Regions from separate parts of the Homo sapiens genome. Here region 1 is linked to region 2. Evidence: promoter capture Hi-C in 16 types of primary human blood cells and fetal thymus (Javierre and others, 2016). All regions are on one chromosome and are shown on one strand. Each heading gives the region's core, a stretch centred on a gene start or on the middle of the fragment in contact. The rest is flanking DNA. Distances are from core to core; before and after follow the strand shown. Region 1 overlaps LOC105374455 (a long non-coding RNA gene). Region 2 holds the start of YIPF4 (Yip1 domain family member 4).

What was found. Contacts are between HindIII fragments. The CHiCAGO score rates a contact against its expected background, and 5 or more counts as called.
Region 1: a contact is called between a fragment that was not itself captured here and the fragment with the promoter of YIPF4 in region 2, in 1 of 17 cell types (fetal thymus). The highest score is 5.3, in fetal thymus.

The regions. Positions count from the first base shown.
Region 1 is chr2:33,601,426-33,604,706 of GRCh38, reverse strand. All of the region lies in intron 1 of LOC105374455 (a long non-coding RNA gene), which reads right to left. It also overlaps the pseudogene ATP6V0E1P3. Among named protein-coding and RNA genes, the nearest start is that of FAM98A, 3.8 kb to the right of the region's middle. The HindIII fragment of the contact is 3,183 bases long and covers 161-3,281 here.
Region 2 is chr2:32,275,802-32,279,180 of GRCh38, reverse strand. YIPF4 (Yip1 domain family member 4) reads right to left here and starts at 1,277. Exons shown (of 6, transcript NM_032312.4): 1 at 947-1,277. The coding sequence starts at 1,025. RefSeq lists a silencer at 1,070-1,179 and an enhancer at 1,417-2,162. The HindIII fragment of the contact is 1,217 bases long and covers 649-1,865 here.

The DNA.
Region 1 (3,281 bases), core at 503-3,002, 1.3 Mb before region 2:
TTAAACAGGCCAAACAAAATACAACGCTTGGTCTGGTGTGAAGGCTAGTTTATTACCTCTAGGCTACAGTCTAATAAGCTCTTACTGCATCCAAATTAGATGGGTTTCTATCTGGTTCACTGTGTGCCTGATTGCAGAACATGGCAACTAGGCTGAAGCTTTGTTGGGAGAACAACAGAAATCAAATTTGGAGCTTTTATTCTGGAAAGATCTGGATATATCTCTGTGTGTGTTTTTGTATATATATACACATTTGTGTGTGTGAATGTGTGTGTGTGAATATATATATATATATATATATACACACGTACATTCACACACATAGCACTTCCTTTGTTTAGTTTAAACACAGGCAAGATGTTGTTCTCAAACTTTGTAATATTCTCTAAAAATTGCCAGGGCTCAGAAACTATACTAACATAGCCAGAGGAATGATTTGAAAAAACAGCATTCTTTAGTAATATAAAGTATTTGAGACCATACAAGATTTAATTCTACATGCTAACTTAAAAAAAAAAAGAGTTGTGCTTTCACTGTGCAAGCTGAAAAGGACTTTATTTAGCAACATATACAAACTTGCATTTCTGAGCAACACCAGTAAATCTATGGTCTTTCTATTTTCTCCTTGCTGGAGGGTCATTCTAAAGATAAATTCACTAAAAATGGAAAATGCTGCTATTTTTCAGACAGTGTTCTTTTATTTTTGATAGAAAAGTTATTTGTTTTAGATGCCTATTTAATCACCTCTTAGAAACCAATCCATGACAAATCTTATATTTGAGCTTATACCTACCTCTTTTCCATGATAAAAAATTACTTCTATAGATGCTAGAAGTAACTTTCTTAAAGATGTCAGCTGCATAAATTTTTAATTACTATATAATTAAAAACCTTCTAATAATTTTTAAGGTTATGACTTATAAAACATGTTCCTCTGGAAACTGAAATCAGTTTTCAATTTTCCCATTTACATTTCTTTCACAAGTGAAAAAAATAATTTGTCTTTATTCTCTTCAAGAAGAGCTAGAAAAGGCTGATCTTTAAGATCATTCATTGTTTCTACTCTCCAGGAAAGGCAGTGTGGTATGGACCCCCCTCCCCCGAAAACTATCTGCATCATAATCGTTGGAACATGAGACTATGGAAAAAGGGACTTTGCAGGTGTGGTTAAATTGAAGATCTTAAGGTTGGGAGATTATTCTGGATTATCTGGCACAAGGATGGGGGTCCTTATAAGTAAAAGAGGGAGGCAGGAAGGTAAGAGGGCATGACTACCATGTAGCAGGGGTCGGAGTGGTGTTGCTGGTCTTGATGAAGGAGGGGAGTCATAAGCCAAGGAAGGTGGGTGGCCTCTAGAAACCAAAACAGGGAAGAAAACAGATTCTCTCCTAGAGATTCCAGAAGAAATGCAAACCTGCCCATTTTTGCCAGGTGAGATCCATTTCAGGTGTCTGACCTCCAGAGCTGTAAGATAATAAATCTGTCTTGTTTTAAGCCTCTAAATTTGTGGTAATCTGTAGCAGCAGCAGTTAAGAATATGGACAGTAACCAGACTCCCTCAAAGATGGGACACTAGAATAGCTTTATTTTATATTTTATTTTATCTATAGAAAACAGAAAAATGATTTATTCCAAAAGATGGCAGAAATGAGAAATTCATGCTGAAAATATACCTTGGGCCGGATGTGGTGGCTCATGACGGGGTGCAGTGGCCAAGGTGGGCGGATTGCTTGAGCCCAAGATTTTGAGACCAGCCTGGGCAACATGGCAAAACCGTCTCTACCAAAAAATAAAAAAACTTAGCCAGGCATGGTGGCCAGCGGCTGCAGTCCCAGCTACTTGGGAGGCTGAGGCAGGAGGATCACTTGAGCCCAGGAGGTTGAGGCTACGAGATCACCACTGCACTTCAGCGGGAGCGACAGAGCAAAACTCTGTTTAAAAAGGAAGAAAGAAAAAAAAAAGAACACATAATTTGGTGTAATTCTGTTGGGAGAGCTCTTTCCTCTGAACGTCCTCTCCTACTGACTGCCCCACTGGAGTCTTGTCAGGCAGTAGTACGTTCTAAATAGTTCACTGATTCCCATGTTATGAGAAGGCAGGAGCCACTACAAATCCACAAATTCCAAGGACATAATAACACATTTCTCAGAAGAAAAGCATCTTCTCTCTCAAAAGAGTGCATTATCATTTTGAGGAGTTGGCACAGTTTAGGTTAAGTAGGCACATAATTCATTAAAGCATAAAAAAGTTGAAGAAAAAAATGCTGCATTGTGTTAGACATTCAAATGTGGTGTGAATGTTTAAGGCAGCTGATGCCCAAAATAAGCAAGTCAAGAAAAGTGGTGTGGTTTGGATTTTGCATCTAGAAGGAATTCTTTTCTCATGACTGCTAAGACTGAGCACTGTAAAGCCTGTCTTCCTCAAGGCCAATGACACTTCGGATACCAGATGATTTCATGTTTCAACTGCAGTCTGAAGAGAGGGTTGAGTTGGCCAGGATTGCAATCAGCCAAAAGAGACAGCAACAAACTGAACAGGTCACCTACATGGTAATGATAACTCCCTACTTAGGACCCTTAGGGATGAACCAAGGCATGAAGAAACCAGTGAAGCCCTAAAACACGCTCATTGCAATGAGACGTATGGTGAGGCCCTGATATGCCATGCTTACCGCTGGTCTGCCAGCCCCTGCCCCTCTGCCTCACTTGGGTCCCACCTGGAAGTCATTTTTAATTAATTTTTTTTTTTTTAACAGAGACAGAGTCTTGCTATGTTGCTCAAGCTGGCCTTGAACCCCTGGCTTCAAGTAATCGTCCTGCCTCAGCCTCCCAAAGTGCTGGGATTGCAGGTCTGAACTACCGCGCCAGACCCTAGAAGGGTTTTAAGTTGGTATTTTATATTCTTTTTTGAGAAAGAATCTAGAATCAAAGTCATCAGTAAAAGGGCATGTGCTGGCACTTGTGGGTGTGCCTTCTCACAAGAGTACCCTTAAGTAATTATTCAGCCTCTAGGTGAACACCTTCTAGACAGGAAGCTCATCATCTCTCAACGATACCTAAGTCACTTTAAGACTACTCTTAGAGTGTTAGAAAAATTCTTTCTTATACTGATCTGATGCAAAAACCAGAGCTTCCTCACTTCCAAATCATTGTTCCTTTCATTCTAGTAAACTCAGTTTCAAAGAGGTCTTCAGATATCAGGTTCCATTATAAACATAAATAATTTCTAAATAAAATGCAAAAGATTCCTCGTAGATCCCATTAAAATGATGACAATTTTTT
Region 2 (3,379 bases), core at 28-2,527:
TGGCTAACACGGTGAAACCTCATCTCTACTAAAAATACAAAAAAAATTAGTCGGGGGTGGTGGCGGGTGCCTGTAGCCCCAGCTACTCGGGAGGCTGAGGCAGGAGAATGGCGTGAACCCGGGAGGCGGAGCTTGCAGTGAGCCGAGATCGCGCCACTGCACTCCAGCCTGGGCGACAGAGCTCAAGAAAAAAAAAAAAATTGAAAATGACTAGCAGAATAATATCCAGGTTATGAGTTGGATAGGGAACTGAGAATAGGAGGGAAACATTCTCCTGTGCTGTAGGAAAATATCTCCAGCACAATCGCTTCCTCAGAATAATACAAGGAAATCTGTAGAGGCTACTGGAAACACATTGTTGGTTTACACTAAACTTCCAATATACCTGCGTCAATTTCTCTGAATACTGAGGTGAAACATTACAAAATGCGAGGAAAACGGGGACTCGGGCAAGACATCAAATTCAATAAAAACCATTTAGTTTGTATTTGCAGTGCCGAATCTGATCCCAGACCCCCCCCAAAAAATTATCTGTTGATACATAACAGAAGAAAACAGCCCTCCTTCCTTTTTCTCATTCTTTGAGATCTCCCTTGGCCAATCTGTCCTTTTTCTGAGTAAGGGCGAGTAATTCCAGAACTAAAAGCTTAGGATTTTGTGGGTCCAATTGAAGAGACTAAGCCACCCAGAAAAACCAGCCACCAGACGGTATGGGGAAAACCAAGGGCTGACCGAGTAACTTGATGCTTTAAAAAGCAGCTCCCTACACCCCTCCCTCCGTCCTTCGGGGCCTCTCGGAAGGCCCGGCAGGCGTGGTGGGCTGCAGTCACCAGTCAGCTTCCTGCCTGTCCCCACCCGGCCACGACCACCTCGGCACCAGAAAGACCCTACGGCGTCGGGCCCTGGCTTCCTCCGGGTGATAGCCCTTCCAGGGGCTCAGCCTCACCTTCCGCGTCTGCTGAGGAGACAAAGGTGAAGTCCCCGTTAGTGGGGGCATAGGCCGGGGGCGGGCCCGGAGGCTGCATCTCGCGGCGACTCCCAACCGGCCGCGGTAGAAGAGGCTGCGGCTGGGCCCAGACCCCGAGGCGGCCGCGGCGGCGACCCGCACGCTCGCCCTACGGTGCGGCCTACGAGTCTCGACGTGCAAGCTGCGAGCGAGGCCAGAAACGGGCACAGCGGGCCGCTGAGCTGCCCCGAGACTACCCCACCAAAGTCTTCTTGGTGGCGACCACCCAAGCACCACGACGCCGGCACCCTGACAGGACCATAACAGTGACAGCGGCGCTGGGATTGGCTCTTTGTAATGTGCTCTCCCATTGGCTCCCGGAGGAAGATTCTGATTGGGTCTTCCTGTTGTTGATTCCGGAAGTTTACCCAGGACAGGAAGTTCACTTGTAATTCGTGGAAATCTCAGGCCTCTTTTTCCTCCTTGGGTGCTTTTGTTCCTTTAAGTGCGATCTTTCCTGGCGTTTTGTTTACCTATTACCTCCGTTTTTGTTAAGTGGGTGGGTTAAAGAATTTTAGAACTAGGTAGATTTTATGGGTCAGCCGCCGTACAGGATCTCAAGATTCCCTTGCCATTAGCCATTAATTAATAGTGTAGGATCTTGACTAAGTTATATGTAATGTCTGGATGGCAGTTTCCTCACCTGTAAGATGAAGAGGGATGGATCGGAGAATGAAGATAAAAGGCAGAGAAGCCGTAAATCGCCACCCAGAGACTAGGGCTGTAGATACATTCCTTTATGAGGGAGAAAACTGAGGCCAGAGAAAGTAAGGTAGAAACAGATTTAGGACAGTACCTAAATCTCCTAATTTCTAGTCAAGTGCTCTTTTCACTGGAAGGCCCTGTCTACTGATAAGCTTGCCGAAGTTAACAAACTCACCTGCTTTTAAATGTTTACATACGTAACTTTAATATTCAAGCTACATAAATGTGGCTTCCAACTTGAAGAAAGAGGGGTTGGGGTATATTAGGAGGCCAACTTGGAGAAATACACAATTGATCAGCAATAGAGCAATCGAGAGACATGTCTATTAGTGTGTTAAATGGTATTTCTGGAAAATTTTCTCACAGGAGGTAACATGTTGGTACTTAAAGGATGAGTAAATGTAGTGGTTTTGTTTGTTTTAGAGACAAGGTCGCTCCGTTACCCAGGCTGGAGTGCAGTGGTGCAGTAATAGCTCCTTGTAACCTCACACTCCTGGGCTCAGGCAGTCCTCCCAACTCAGCTATCTAAGTAGCTGGGACTACAAGCCCCCTGCCACCATGTTTGGCTAATATTTATTTATTTATTTATTTATTTTTGAGACGGAGTCTCATTCTGTCGACAGGATGGAGTGCAGTGGCGCGATCTCGGCTCACTGCAACCTCCGCCTCCAGGGTTCAAGCGATTCTCCTGCCTCAGCCTCCCGAGTAGCTGGGACTACAGGTGCCTGCCACCACGCCTGGGTAATTTTTTGTATTTTTAGCAGAGACGGGGTTTCACCATGTTAGTCAGGATGGTCTCGATCTCCTGACCTTGTGGTCTGCCTGCCTTGGCCTCCCAAAATGCTGAGATTACCGGCGTGAGCCACTGCACCCAGCCCGAATATAACCATTTTTTAAAACATGCCAATTTGATGGGTGATTGTGGGGAAAAGAAAGAGAGATCAGATTGTTACTGTGTCTGTGTAGGAAGAAGTAGACATAGGAGACTCCATTTTGTTCTGTACTAAGACAAATTCTTCTGCCTTGAGATGCTGTTAATCTATAACCTTAGCCCCAAACCCGAACTCTCTGAAACATGTGCTGTGTCAACTCACGGTTAAATGGATTAAGGGCTGTGCTAGATGTGCTTTGTTAAACAGATGCTGGAAGGCGGCATGCTCCTTAAGAGTCATCACCACTCCCTAATCTCAAGTACCCAGGGACACAAACACTGCGGAAGGCCGCAGGTACCTCTGCCTAGGAAAGCCAGGTGTTGTCCAAGGTTTCTCCCCATGTGATAGTCTGAAATATGGCCTCGTAGGAAGGGAAAGACCTGACCGTCCTCCAACCCGACACCCGTAAAGGGTCTGTGCTGAGGAGGATTAGTATAAGAGGAAGGCATGCCTCTTTGCAGTTGAGACAAGAGGAAGGCATCTGTCTCCTGCCCATCCCTGGGCAATGGAATGTCTTGGTATAAAACCCGATTGTATGTTCCATCTACTGAGATAGGGGAAAACTGCCTTAGGGCTGGAGGTGGGCCATGCGGGCAACAATACTGCTCTGTAAGGCATTGAGATATTTATGTGTATGCATATCTAAAGCACAGCACTTAATTCTTTACCTTGTCTATGATGCAGAGACCTTTGTTCACGTGTTTATCTGCTGACCTTCTCTCCACTATTATCCTAT